Linked DNA regions of Homo sapiens: region 2 is linked to region 1. Evidence: promoter capture Hi-C in 16 types of primary human blood cells and fetal thymus (Javierre and others, 2016). All regions are on one chromosome and are shown on one strand. Each heading gives the region's core, a stretch centred on a gene start or on the middle of the fragment in contact. The rest is flanking DNA. Distances are from core to core; before and after follow the strand shown. Region 1 holds the start of N4BP1 (NEDD4 binding protein 1). Region 2 has its middle 50 kb from the start of SIAH1.

The links. The method cuts DNA at HindIII sites, captures the fragments that hold promoters and counts their contacts. A CHiCAGO score of 5 or more calls a contact.
Region 2: a contact is called between a fragment that was not itself captured here and the fragment with the promoter of N4BP1 in region 1, in 5 of 17 cell types (neutrophils, monocytes, M1 macrophages and 2 more). The highest score is 9.3, in neutrophils.

Annotation. Positions count from the first base shown.
Region 1 is chr16:48,608,764-48,615,672 of GRCh38, reverse strand. N4BP1 (NEDD4 binding protein 1) reads left to right here and starts at 5,493. Exons shown (of 7, transcript NM_153029.4): 1 at 5,493-5,898. The coding sequence starts at 5,701. LOC124903687 (a long non-coding RNA gene) reads right to left here and starts at 5,363. Exons shown (of 2, transcript XR_007065063.1): 1 at 5,155-5,363; 2 at 4,460-5,018. RefSeq lists enhancers at 3,951-4,030, 5,223-5,302, 5,313-5,362, 6,313-6,362 and a silencer at 5,403-6,002. The HindIII fragment of the contact is 6,560 bases long and covers 794-6,909 here.
Region 2 is chr16:48,431,817-48,438,960 of GRCh38, reverse strand. No RefSeq gene overlaps it. Among named protein-coding and RNA genes, the nearest start is that of SIAH1, 50 kb to the right of the region's middle. RefSeq lists enhancers at 6,399-6,518, 6,330-6,874. The HindIII fragment of the contact is 2,753 bases long and covers 1,824-4,576 here.

The sequences.
Region 1 (6,909 bases), core at 4,244-6,743:
GATTGCAGTGAGCCAAGATCGCACCACTGCGCTTCAGCCTGGGAGACAGAGTGAGACTCCACTTCAATAAATAAATAAATAAAATAATAATTTAAAAAAGGAAACAGGAGGAAGGAACAGTGAGTGCAAATGCCCTGCCATGGTGTGAGCTGGGCCCAGTGCAGAGAGGAGCAGAGGTGGGGCAGGCAGGAGACAGGTCTGGTAAGGGCTGCCACTCAAGGCAAGGGCTTTGGATTTTATTCTGACCCTGAGGGAAAGCTCTTGGAGGATCCTAAGTAATGGTCTGACAGATGAGATTTGCAATTTGAGAAGATCACTCTGGCTGCAGCATCGATATTTGTAAATAATTTATCCGAATCTCCTACTGGTTGTAGCTCTTGACACTTACAGACAGGCCAAAAAGGCTATGGGGAGACCTCATGGTTGTCAGAGAGATGATGGTGGCTTGGATTGTTGACAGGGGATGAGAGACGTTCAACAGTTTGCAAATTTATTAAAACCTTGTGTGTGTAGTTGAAGAATGATGATATAACCGTTTCTTACTCGAAGGCCCTACATGTGATTGTACCAAAAACACGGAACCCAGGACACTGCTGGCCAGAGAGCATCTTTGTCTGCTGATCTGATTGGTTGGGTGTGCCGAGCAACATTCCACGTGCACATCTGTCTGGTTTTGACAGCATCCTACGGCAAGGAAGGTCCAAGACTAAGGGGTTGGTCATGAGACCATGTGCTCTCCTCTTGCTTACCTTTGCACAAGGGCAGAAGAAGGGGCTGGCTGCATATCCAAGCTTGCTGCTGCTGTCATTATGGCATAGCACATAAGGCCAGTCAGCAGAGTCATGTAACCAGCAAAGGGTCCGTCTGCTCGCCACTGGTACAAAAATGACAGAATAACAAGAGCAAAGTGTGATAAGGAGATTTTATTATCCATGCTAATAAGGGAAGGAGTGGGTGAGATTCTTTCCAAAAATTTCCACCCTTCAATTTGTGGGGGGAATGCAGGGGTTTTTAAAGAGAGAGGGGTTTGGAATGGAGAGGAAGGGGGCTAGGAGGGGTCAGTGGTGCAATCCACTCCAACAGCTTATCTTGAATTATTGTTCCCTTTGGTGAAGGGGCCAGTGCCATCCTGGGCCTGACCAGGTTACAAATGAACTTCAGCCAATCTTGCAGTTAATTTCTAGTGCGTGAGCATGAGTAAACGTGAGTGAGTGTAGCCAGGAGTAAATTTCAGCCTTGACCGGGGAGAGAATTCTGGAGGCATACGGTCCATGTCAAGATCCAGCCCCTGGATGGGCGCAATGGCTCAGGCCTGTAATCCCAGCACTTTGAGAGGCCGAAGTGGGCAGATCGCCCAAGGTCAGGAGTTTGAGACCAGCCCGGCCAACATGGCAAAACCCTGTCTATACTAAATATACAAAAATTAGCCAGGCGTAGTGGCGGGCGCCTGTAGTCCCAGCTACTTGGGAGGCTGAGGCAGGAGAATGGCGTGAACCCGGGAGGCAGAGCTTGCAGTGAGCCGAGATCCCGCCACTGCACTCCAGCCTGGGCGACAGAGCGAGACTCCGTCTCAAAAAAAAAAAAAATTAGCTGGATGTGGTGGTGCATGCCTGTAATCTCAGCTGCTCGGGAGGCTGAGATAGGAGAATTGCTTGAACCCGGGAGGCAGAGGTTGCAGTGAGCTGAGATGGCACCACTGCACTCCAGCCTGGGAGACAGAGCAAGACTCCATCGCAAAAAAAAAAAAAAAAAAAAAAATCCAGCCCCTGAGGCTTCTAAGGAAATACATGACCAGATAAGTGAGCATGGTATGTGCTTGACGAGTGTTTGGGTAAATAAATGAGCATATGGCATGGGAGAATGGAATGGGGAAGGATAGGGAGTGGAGGTTCACAGTCCATTCCAAGGCTGTATGTCAAGATGACAGGAAACACATATGCAGCTTGTCTCAAAGTTGTATCTTGAGACTGGGGAGAAAGAAGGAAAGAAAACAAGGTTTTAAAATGCAGTTTGAAGCCAAGCTGCCTGCTTACAGTCAGACTGCCTGGATTCAAATGGCTATTTCTACCACTTCACTGACTAGCTCTGTGGAACATTCCAGAATTTCTCTATTCTTCTGTTTCCTCTTTTTTCCCCCTTAATTTACATTTTTTGTGGGGGGGCAGGTAAGAGACAGGATATCGCTATGTTGCCCAGGCACACCTTGAACTCCTGGGCTTAAACAATCCTCCCACCCCAGGCTTCCAAGTAGCTGAGACTACAGGCACCTGCCACCACCCCCGGCTGGTTTCCTCATCTTTGAAACAGGAAGAAAAACAATAGCAACCACTGTTGGAGTTTTAGGAGACCAATAAACACTCTTTCTGCCCCTTCTGAGTTCAGAACTAAGGAAGAAAAGCAGGTAGAGATCAAAATGTCATCATCATTGCTGACAAGAGCTAGACTGGAGGATGTGGTTGAAGTGAAAATACTTTACCCCCAGTCACTAACACAGCAACTGCAGACAGCCCATTACCAGGGTACAGGGCGGTCCAACCCAGCACCCCACCTTCTCAGAAAGTTATCAGTCAGAGAAATCCTCCTCCTGCTCTGGGGAAAAGGAGAATGAAAGCTAGATAGACATGTTCCTCCACACTTGGCCCCGCTGGGGAATGGAATAGGAATCTCCTCCTGTCCTTGAAAATATGAGAAGCAAAAATAAGTGATTCTCTCAATACCATTTTATGGGCTCTTGAGGTTGTTATGAGATTAAGGAAAAACACAGCTAAAGTATCTAGAATACAGAATTCATAAGGTTTCATCTCTGGCATCGACTGTCCTGGCTGGTCAGGCCAGCCAGATAGGCAAGGCTGGTTAACCGAGGGAAGTTGTGGTTGAGTGAGAAACAGCATGAAGCAAGGAAGTTCTTGAAAGGGGATTTTTTTTTTCTCTCTCTCTTTCTCCTTGTTCCTTACACTCAGGAAACCTTGAGAGTTCCCTAAAGGGAAATGCTGATCAAATATGAACTGGCAAGTCTTTTTTTTTTTTTTTTTTCTGAGATGGAATCTTGCTCTTGTTACCCAGGCTGGAGTGCAGTGGCGCGATCTTGGCTCACTGCAACCTCCGCCTCCGGGGTCCAAGCAATTCTCCTGCCTCAGCCTCCCGAGTAGCTAGGATTACAGGCATGTGCCACCACACCCAGCTAATTTTTTATATTTTGAATAGAGACGGGGTTTCACTACGTTGGCCAGGCTGGTCTCCAACTCCTGGGCTCAAGTGATCCGCCCTCCTTGGCCTCCCAAAGTGCTGGGATTACGGGTGTGAGCCACCACACCCAGCCTGGCAAGTCTTAAATTAAAACTGGAGGAAAAACCTCCCAAAACTATGTATCTTCAATTATACACCAACCCAGTGACTTATTAGCACAGCTTCTTGGCCCAGCATTTTTTAAGGGTGTGTGTATGCACTGCTTCTGTTGGTTTTGGGTGGGATTTTTTTGGAGGGAAGTGGGGAGAGGAAGGCACTGTGGTGTGTTTTTCAAGGCAGCCTCCCTCTTCACCTCTTACAATTAAGCAATTAAGAATCGCAAGCAGGGAAGTCACTGGGAGCAAACAGGAACCAGCCCTGGGGAAAGCCCTGTCTAATCACTGAACAATAGCAATTCCGTTTAAGGTGAGTGCAATAAGGCAGGAAATAACATGCTGTGTTGACAACATGCCTTACTGATAGACTGCGGTTCTGCAAGCAATGCATCAGCAATGCCACACTCGCCACCTGACCTGCCTCAGCCAATCCCACGTCATCTACCTGATGGAGCAAGGCTGCTGGTTGTGTGGACATCAAGGGAAAAGCCCAGGGGAGCAGGAATCTGTTGATCTGTGAGCCTAGTGGTTCTCTTCCCTGTGCTGAATCACTTCTTGGTGGGGCACTGGGAGACCACACCTGAGTTTCTGAGACATATGGAAACCCCCAGAAGCCTGGATCTCTCATAGGTTTTACCTTGGGTAAATCCTCCTACAGAGACCATTCCCCCTTGGTATTTCCAACTACAGCATCTTTAGCTCCTCCTCTTTTTCCTCTAGCAGGGATGTACACAGATGGCACAGACTCCTGGGCCCACAAGTTCACTGTGGTTGCATAATCCACACAAAGATTTTCCCTGAAAATTAGGCCTTAAATATATTGCTTAAGTTAGCAATAATAATGTTCAGTGAGCACTTACAGTGTTGGGTGCTGTATTAATATTCACAATAGGAAGTACTATTATTATCTACATTTTATAGATGAAAAATTAAAACAGAGAGAGGTAATATTCCCAGAGCCCCTATCTACTATAGCCACAATATTTAGCTGAAGGAAAGGAATCCAACACTTTATCTTCCACAATCTGTTTTCATGGACTCAGAGAATATAAAGGCCTGGAAAAGGCCTTAGAGATAACTGAGTGTACTCTTTTATTTTACAGATCAGAAAACAGACCTGGAGAGGGGTTAGGGTTTATTTGCTCCAGTCCCAGGGAAGATCATGAGTGAGCCCCCAAACTCCCACTTTTCGGGCTTCTCCCATAACATATCCCCTTTCTTCCCTCACAGAAGAAATCACTCTCCTGAATTTATCTTTTTTTTTTTTTTTGAGACGGAGTTTCGCTCTTCTTGCCCAGGCTGGAGTGCAATGGCGCAATCTCGGCTCACCGCACGCAACCTCTGCCTCCAGGGTTCAAGCGATTCTCCTGCCTCAGCCTCCCTAGTAGCTGGGATTACAGGCATGTGCCACCACGCCGCGCTAATTTTTTTTTTTTTTTTTTTTTTTTTTTTTTTTTTTTTTTTTTTTTTTAGCAGAGACGGGGGTTTCTCCATTTTGGTCAGGCTGGTCTCGAACTCCGGACCTCGAGTGATCCACCCGCCTCTGCCCCCACAGACTGCTGGGATTACAGGCGTGAGCCACCGCGCCCGGCCTTCTTGAATTTATCTTAATCATTTTTTTGATTTTCAATTCTCCGTAAGTATGCCCATTTTCTTCTCTTCTTGCTACCATTTTTACTGAAAGAAATAAAAAGGGAAAGAGAAAAAAGTGAGAAGGGCAGCTAAGAAGGTAAAAGGGTAGGGAGGAAGGGAAGAAACAGAGAAAGAAAAGTCCCGTCTGCCTGTGGATTAACGTGAAACTGAATAACTCAACTGCTAGAATCCTGGTTTGAGCGTCAAGATGTCTGAGGTCAAGTCCAATCCCTGTGACACTCTCAGTCTCGCCTCCTGGCAATTAAGTTTCCCCAACTATAAACCCATATATCTACATCCACCAGATCCCGCGAAAGCGGTTTCCCCTCATCAAAGAAGTCCGCCCAGGCCTCCAAAACCATCCCTTTATTCTCAACCAACATGGCGACTGAGGGTGACGTCAACTTCCGTCGCCTTCACCCTACTCCCTTCCCCTAGGGGGCGGCGAGCCTCAATGACGGCTGCGGCCGGGGCGCATGCGCGGCGGCGGGGCCCGGCCCGCGGCGGCGGCAAAGGGGCGGAGGGGTTCGCTGCCAGCAATTGCCAAGCTGCTGCGGTCGTGGCGGGATGGTATAGCCGGGCCTGAGGGCGGGCGGCGGGGCGCGGGCGGGGGCGAGGCGGCCGGGAAGGGCCGACGCCGCCTGACTGGCTTGGGAGCAGCGGCAGCAAGCTGAGGGGGCGTCGCCGCCGCCGGCCCCCGGCGCCGCCGCGGGAGGCCGCGCCCGCCATGGCGGCCCGGGCGGTGCTGGACGAGTTCACTGCGCCAGCTGAGAAGGCGGAGCTGCTGGAGCAGAGCCGCGGCCGTATCGAGGGCCTGTTTGGCGTGAGCCTAGCCGTGCTCGGCGCGCTAGGGGCTGAGGAGCCGCTGCCCGCGCGCATCTGGCTGCAGCTCTGCGGGGCGCAGGAGGCGGTGCACAGCGCCAAGGTGAGTCCGGCCGCCGCCCCCGCGCGCCCGCGGCCTCGATCGGTCCGGGTCTCCGGGCTCCCGCTCCTCCCCGCCCCCGCCGTCCGCCGCGATGCGCCTGGGTTGGGAACGCAGTCTCGGGAGCCAGCGAACGTGCCTTTTCGGCTCGCGAGCCATGTGACCTTGGATAGCGGCTTGATCCCCGGAGCCTCAGTTTCCCCATTTGTAAAGTGGCGCTGACGAAAGTACCTACCTCAGAGGGCTGTCGCGAGGATGAAAGTGGGGGATGTGTATGAAGCGCAGGCACAGCGTGTGGCACGGATCGGGTGCGCTGCGCATGTCGCCTGTTGTTGTCAGTTCCCCGGCCCCCAGGATGGTACGCAAGGCCTGTTGCTGGGCCCGCAGCCTCGTCCACCACCTAAGCCTTTATCCCCCAGTCCCGGGCCTCCACTACTGCAGTTCTGAGCCTTTTTGGGATCTCAGTTCCTCTTGAGAATCGGAAAAAAACTATTAATAGTAATAAAACGCTCGGAGAATGTCAGAAAGAAAGGATTTATGTTTACCTATTTTTTTCTATTTGAGACAGGGTCTCACTCTGTCACCCACAGTGGAGTGCAGTGTGGCGCGGTCTCAGTTCACTGCAGCCTCGACTTCCCGGGCTCAAGTGATCCTCCCACCTCAGCCTCCCGAGTAGCTAGTACTATAGGAGCGCGCCACCACGCCCGGCTCATTTTTTTTTTTTTTTTTGGTAGGGGATTTCACTATGTTGCCCGGGCAGGTCTCGAACTCTTGGACTCAAGTCATCCTCCCATCTCGGTCACCCAAAGTGCTGGGACTACACGCGGGAGCCACCCCGGCCGGATATTTAATATGTTAACAAAAAATAGCGTTATTCTTTGTATTGATATTACCTACAACTAACATTTACATAACGCTTAAGAACATCACAGGTTGCTTCAGAAGGAATGTGCAGCCCTTATGGCTTCTAATAAGGTAGATTTTATCCTCCCCACCACCACCCCGCCTTTTTTT
Region 2 (7,144 bases), core at 1,951-4,450, 170 kb after region 1:
CATAAATCAACACAGGCAAAAATATTAAAAAGAATAATTTTTAAAGTTACACAATTCCAGCTAGCTCCTGTTGCCTGCTATCTTAGATTCTCTAGAAGTCAAGCCAGGGCTTGAGTATAAGGTGGGGATTCTTGTGCAAGTGATTTACAGGGGGGACTCCTGGTGAAGGAGGGAGGGAAACAGAAAGAGGCTAAGCAAAGGCGTGGGGCCAGCTGAAGCTCTGGAACAGGAATGGGACCAGAGTTGAACCACCTCAAGGCATGAGGGCTGGGCTTTTGTGCCTGGCATCAATCAGTCGTTGCCGCATACTTCCTCTCGGGATGATGGTATAATCTCCCACCTATTTCCAGGTGAGGCAATTTCCAAAAGAAGGGTGTGGCTGTAAAGTGCTAGCTGCCAACATTCACAGCAGCTGGGAGGTGAATGTATCAACTAGGTGACGGGGATTAGGCAGGACCAGCAGCATCTATTATACCAGTACCAGCCAAAGGCTTTAACCTAAGTTTTCCTCTCTTTTTGCTTTAGACAGGGTGTCACTCTGTCATCCAGGCTGGAATGTGCAGTGGTACAGTCATGGCTCACTGCAACCTCAAACTCCCAGGCTCAAGGGATCCTCCTGCCTCAGCCTCCCAAGTAGCTAAGACTACAAGCACACATCACTATGCCCAGCTAATTTTTTATTCTTTGTAGAGATGGGGGTCATCACTATGATACTCAGGCTGGTCTTGAACTCCTGGACTCAAGCAATCCTCCCGCATAGGCCTCCCAAAGCGCTGAGATTACAAGCGTGAACCACCACACCTGTCTGGTTTGCTATCTTTTGGAGTTAAAAAGAAATGAGAAAACGTGGCCAGGCACGGTGGCTCACACCTGTAATCTCAGCACTTTGGGAGGTCGAGGCTGGTGGATCACTTGAGGTCAGGAGTTTGAGACCAGCCTGGCTAGCGTGAAACCCCGTCTCTACTAAAAATACAAAAATTAGCTGGGAGTGGTGGTGCATGCCTGTAGTCCCAGCTACTTAGGAGGCTGAGGCAGGAGAATTGCTTGAACCCAGGAGATGGAGGTTGCAGGTTGCAGTGAGCCTACATCACACCACTGCACTCCAGCCTGGGCAACAGAGCTCTGTCTCAAAAAAAAAAAGAAAGAAAAAAGAAATTAGAAAATGTTAGAGTGATGTTAAAGACAGGTTAGCACCAAATAGAGACTTTCTCCTTAATGTCGTCAGATGATGGGAAAGAGAATTGAAAATAGACTAGCTTTCTTACTGATACACTGTTCCTTCATGCTCTGCCTGGTCTTTTTGCCAGCTCAGGTGGCCCAGTGCATCCCACACTTTGGGAAACACTGCTGTAAGGCTTTCAATGGGATCCAGCCTGCCATGGCCCCCTCAGCTCCTCTCTGCAGTGCTTTCTTACTTCCCAGCCATTTCATCCAGCAGCCTTGTGTTACACAGATGGCCCACTGTTTGCTCCCAGCTTATTCCCTGCCTTTCCAATGTTCTGCTCTATATTGCAGGAAGCTGTGTTTCCCAGGCTCCCTTGTCAAGTGGCTCTCCATAGCTTTGTGTGTTGGGAGAAAATGGTACAAGACCAGAGTACGGTAGGGTGAGATGTGGGGATCAACCATTTCCCCCCTCTTGCTCTGCATCTTCCACAGTGGCTGTGTATCATCTATGGTTCCAAGCCCTTCTGTGGCTCTGACTCCTGCCAGACAACCCTCACCTCCATGGGGCGAGCTCTCACGGGCAGCCCTGCCATGGTTCTAGCTGCTGCCACCAACACTGGCTTCTGGGCTTCATCTCCTCAACCTTGGAGTAAGAAGCTTCCTGCTGGTGCTAAGCTGTGTTCCTCACTATCCCGTTCAGCCTTTCATCCTTCCATTATCTATGTAAGCAATTCCTTGTGTTAAACTCCCACTGTTGAAAGACCTAGAGTAGTTTCTTAATTCTGACACAGAGAAGCAGCAAGACAGCAGTGAGCTAACCAAGGGTTTACAAAGTCATCAATGAGAAGTTCTGCATCAACCAATCCATTGCTAAGGTCATGTGGCTATGAAAGTCACCCAAGGCCAAGACCTCAACTTTTCCCGCTTGAAAACCCTTGAATATAGAAGGAGCTGGAGGAGGAGGAGTAATAAACTATTCCTCCAAAAATCCAAATGTGTTAATAGTCCCAGCCTTGGCCCTGCACCTCCCCTTCTCCCTCCTCTCGGCAATTCCTGACTTGATTAGTTACCAGGACTAATGCCTTTCTGCTGGTTTATCAGAAAAAAAAAAAAAAAAAAAAGGTTTCTAATACAAAAAATTAGCTGGACGTGGTGGCACACGCCTATAATCCCAGCTACTCCGGAGGCTGAGGCATAAGAATTGCTTGAACCTGGAAGGTGGAGGTTGCAGTGAGCCGAGATTGTGCCATTGCCCTCCAGCCTGGGCGACAGAGTGAGACTGTCTCAAAAAAAAAAAGGGGGTGTTCTCACATGTCCTATGGGGCCTCTCATGAACAATCAGGATATAAGGAACCAGAGAGAGAGAGAGAGAGAGAGACAGAGAGAGATCACAATGGGGCTTAATTTGGAGCCACTTAAATAGATGGTTTTATGAAACCTAATTCCCTCTGTTATTTCTAAATATGCCACTGAGAACTTTAAGACTTGCACACAGCTACTGCTTTCCACTGCAGGCGGGAATTGCCCTCCAGGTGGGAGAGCCAGAGAGGGATGCAATCAGTCCCAGGAGGTTAAAGCCAAGGCCAGGACTCCAATGCTTTGCCTAGGACTTTGTTGTCATTTTCTTCTTGGAAATGGGCCATGATTAGAGAGGGCCAGAAAGGAGCTCTGCTCTGGGGAGGTGAGCCAAGCAGCAGATCAGCCTCGTACTGGTGCAGCCACAAGTGCCAGGAAGCACCACTTTGTGTTAGATGTCCTGAGAATTTTCATCAATGCCCTTGCTGGATGGGACTGATTCCGGGCCAGGCACACATGAGGGCCTCCCAGAAGGCAGGATTCTTCCCATTTGTGACATTAGATCTTTAAAAAGTAAAAAAGCCGGGCGCGGTGGCTACGGCCTGTAATCCCAGCACTTTGGGGGGCCGAGGCAGGTGGATCACTTGAGGTCAGGAGTTTGAGACCAGCCTGGCCAACATAGTGAAACTGTGTCTCTACTAAAAATGCAAAAATTAGCCTGGCGTGGTGGCATGTGCCTGTAATCTCAGCTACTCAGGAGGCTGAAGCAGGAGAATCGCTTAAACCCAGGAGGTGGAGGTTGCAGTGAGCAGAGATCACACGACTGCACTCCAGCCTGGGCGACAGAGTGAGACTCCATCTCAAAAAAACAAAACAAAAAAAATTAATACTTTGTAGATCTGTTACTTATGTAGGTTTTACCCACAGTCTGGGCAAGGGGCAGCTTGGTGACCGTGGATTCACAGTCGTGTCAGCACCTCCTCCTTCCTGGGTCCCAGGTTTCCATCAGGGGTGCTCCCGGCAGGGGGCAGCTGGAAACTGCCCCAAGCAAGACTCGCCAAACAGCAAGATGGGTGGCAAGGGTCCAGGAACAGGTTTTGGCAACACAGAGGGAAACACATACTAAGTGAGTTTATTTTTGTTTTTTCCATCTTTAATTGAGTATTTACTTCGTGTCAGGCACTGGGCTAGGCACCTCCCATGTCTTGGCTCATCTAATTAACACAGCAACCCAGGAGTCAGGTGCTATTTTAAATTGCTGTTTTGCAGAGGAGGTGCACCAAGGCTCAGAGATGCAAAGTAACATGCCAAGGTCACACAGCTGCCTGGGGCCCCTATTGCAAGAGCAGTGTCTAAACTCCTCAGCCTGGGAGGCAAAATAAACATCTGGTGAGGCAAGGGTCAGTCACGGAGAGGCAGAGGGAAGTTCCAGCTTGGGGATGGTGGAAACGTGCTGACGTGAAAGTTGGGCCAAAATAGGCACACAAAGGAGCCAGCTAGGGGTTTGCTCTGCAAAACCAATGATTAGTGTTCTTGGAAGCCATGTTCCTGCTTCACCTGAAGGCTCTGCCTGGTGTTATCTTTCTTCACATTGACTCTGTCCCAGGAAGCCTTTATTTCTTGCTTACCACAGACAGGATGGGGCAACTGCTCTGTACTAGAGCTGCCTAAGAGCTGCAGGAAACACAGATATTGACAGCACAGGATCTCTGCTCTCAAGAAACCCACAGGGTAAAAGGAAGAGGAACATTTATCCAAATGGAAATGACCAAGCCATGCCTAAGGAGAAGAGTGAGCAAACCGTCAGAGACACAGAAAGGAGGGCTATCAGGGAAGACTTCTCAGAGGAGGTGGTCTTTGAACTGGACCCAGAAATGGACCGGGGATGCAATAGTTGGATTGAGAGGAAAGGCTAGTCCAGGCTGAGGAAATAGGTACAGAGGAGGAAAGGGTAGGAAATGGTTAGGACAGGGGAGGAGCCAGATGTGGCTGGAGTGTGAGCTGTTGGGCTAGAATAGGATAAGATGAGTCTGGAAAGGTAATTTGGGCCAGATTATAAAAGCTCTTGACTGAAGAAGCGATATTCCGCCAGCAAGAGAAGCATGTGATATAAGCTTTTCATGAATGAGAACCTCGGCTCTTACATCAACACATATCCTCAGAACACTGCTGCAGGACAGGGGTCAGGCTCCCAGTTTTACACAGGAGGAAACCAAAGTTTGTAGCAATTCTTATTCTACACTTCCTTCCTCCTCCACCATTAAAGATGTCTTTCTTGGAGGCCCCCTCTGTTGTCTTGAGGACAACCTAATCCAATCACAGGGTCCTTGTGGCTAAATAAAATCATCATTTCCCCAAGAGAAAGGCTACTCTGAGAGGCATGGGGAAGGGAATAGGGTGCAAGACAGGGAGGAAAGAAACCTGGGTTCAGTCTGGACTCTATCAACAGCCTGTGACCTTGGGGAAGTCACTTCCTCTCTCTGGGTCTTGGTTTCCTCATCTGTAAAGTGAGGAATTGAAGTGAATACTTGCCAACTCCCAGAGTCTGTGCATAATTAAATGAGGCCCGGGTGTAGAGGGAGAGAAGGGAAGGAGCGTGCCTTCATTTTTTGGTATTTTTGAGTGTGTCCTGGACACTATGCCTCATGCAAAGGACAGGGACATAGGAAAGAATATGGCTCCCTAAGAAGGAGAAAGACAAGTGAAATGACAGAAACAGAGGCATTGAAAACAGCAGGGCTCAAAGTTAGGCTGGAGGTCAGGGAGGGCCTCGCAGAACTGGAGCGTGAGCAGCCTGTGAAGGAAGGACAGGAACTCACTGCCCGGCGATCAGGACGGCCAGGGCCTTCCAGGCAGGGGAGCTGTGTGGACAACGCAAGGAAGGCGGCAACTGCGTATCTGTTCAGGCAGGTGCAAATATGGATTGGTAGTGGGGTAAGGAGGACCGTGGAGAAACAGATCGGGCTGGAGAGGTCAACCAGGCCTCGTGGCCAGGGAGAAGTTCTGACCCGGGGGTCTGATCAATAACTGATGGCAGGCTGATTAGAGGACCTCCCACCCCCGCAGAGGCTCCCTGTCCCCCTGCGCAGTTCTCACCTCCCCACCAAGGCAGAAAGACTCAGCACAGCTGCCTCTTATGTGCAAGCTGGAGGAGACAAGCAGGGCTCCAGGTGGGAGTCACAGAGGCCCTTGGTTGGTGCAAAATTGAGGAAACTAGGACACCTGCTCTCTGCCTGACAGAACTCTACAAACTGCAGCCTGAGTGTGCACAGCATTAAAACTGTGATTTCAGGCCGGGCATGGTGGCGCATACCTGTAATCCCAGCACTTTGGGAGGCCGAGGTGGGTGGATCACTTGAGGCCAGGAGTTCGAGACCAGCCTGGGCAACATGGCAAAACTCTGTCTCTACTAAAACTGCAAAAATTAGTCAGGCATGGTGGCACATGCCTGTAATCCCAGCTACTCGGGAGTCTGAGGCATGAGAAGCACTTGAACCTGGGAGGTGGAGGTTGCAGTGAGCCGAGATGGCGCCACTGCACTCCAGCCTGGGCAACAGAGTGAGACTCCATCTCAAAAAAACAAAAACAACTATCATCTGAGCCAAAGAGAATGCAAAATCCGGCAGCATGGATTCAGGACTCAGGGCTCTATCCCGGGGAGCATCTCTCCAGGCCAGGTATAAGCATTCAATAAATATGCTAACTTTTTATTTACTCTTTATTTTATTTATTTGTTTGTTTATTTTTGTAGGGAACAGGGCCTCGCTATGTTGCCCAGACTGGTCTTGAACTCCTGGCCTCAAGTGATCCTCCTGTTTTGGCCTCTCAAAGCGCTGGGATTACAGGGATCAGCCACTGCCCCTATGTTAACTTCTTTACATATTAATGCCCCATCCCCAGAGCCAATAAGATTACCAGCTTCATGAGGGCAAAGACAGTGTCTCTGCCACCTTTATAGCCCTCTTAACTGTTGGCATCCTGCTTTGAAGTTCCACAGAACTGAGTTCTGTGCCAAGCTGGGCTACTTCCTGCTGTGTGACCTGACAAGCCACTCGTCCTCTCTGACTCTGGAGAACAGGGATGATCAAGCCCAGGCCAGAGTGTTGGAAGGATCTTTGAGTGACTGCCACTCCCCTGCACTCCATTGAGGCAGCAATTGTGACTATTGTTATTGTGATCTCTAAGTGGATGAGGAAGTAGACCTTGTGTGAAACTTCCCCTTTCTGGGTTTCCAGTTTCTTCAGCTGTAAACAAAGGTGCTCGACTTGTCTTTGGTTCCACTTGGAATATCTCTGTGAACAGAAGAGATGTTCCAGGATCTTCTTGCAAGAGGAGTCTCCTGGCTGCTGGCTTCCCAAGAAGCACCCTTGCCCTAGGATCCATGGAAGTGATAAGAAACACGGTGGTCCTAAGTTCTTAGACTCTTAGAGCAAAAAGTTCATGAATCCTTCCAAGGATGGGCTTTAGGGGTGGCCCAGGAGCCTCCTAAATTGGGTGCAAAATGTTATGAATACATTTAATAGGGAGAAGGCCCTATTAATTGCCATTTTAATTCACAAAATCTGTCTACTCTCCTAAAGGGTCCTTGAAGGTGTGCGCTGAATCTCCAGGACTCAGCCTAGTGTATATTTTTGTGGAGTGAAGTAAATGAACATTTGTGAGCTGACATCCTGCTTCAGCTGTG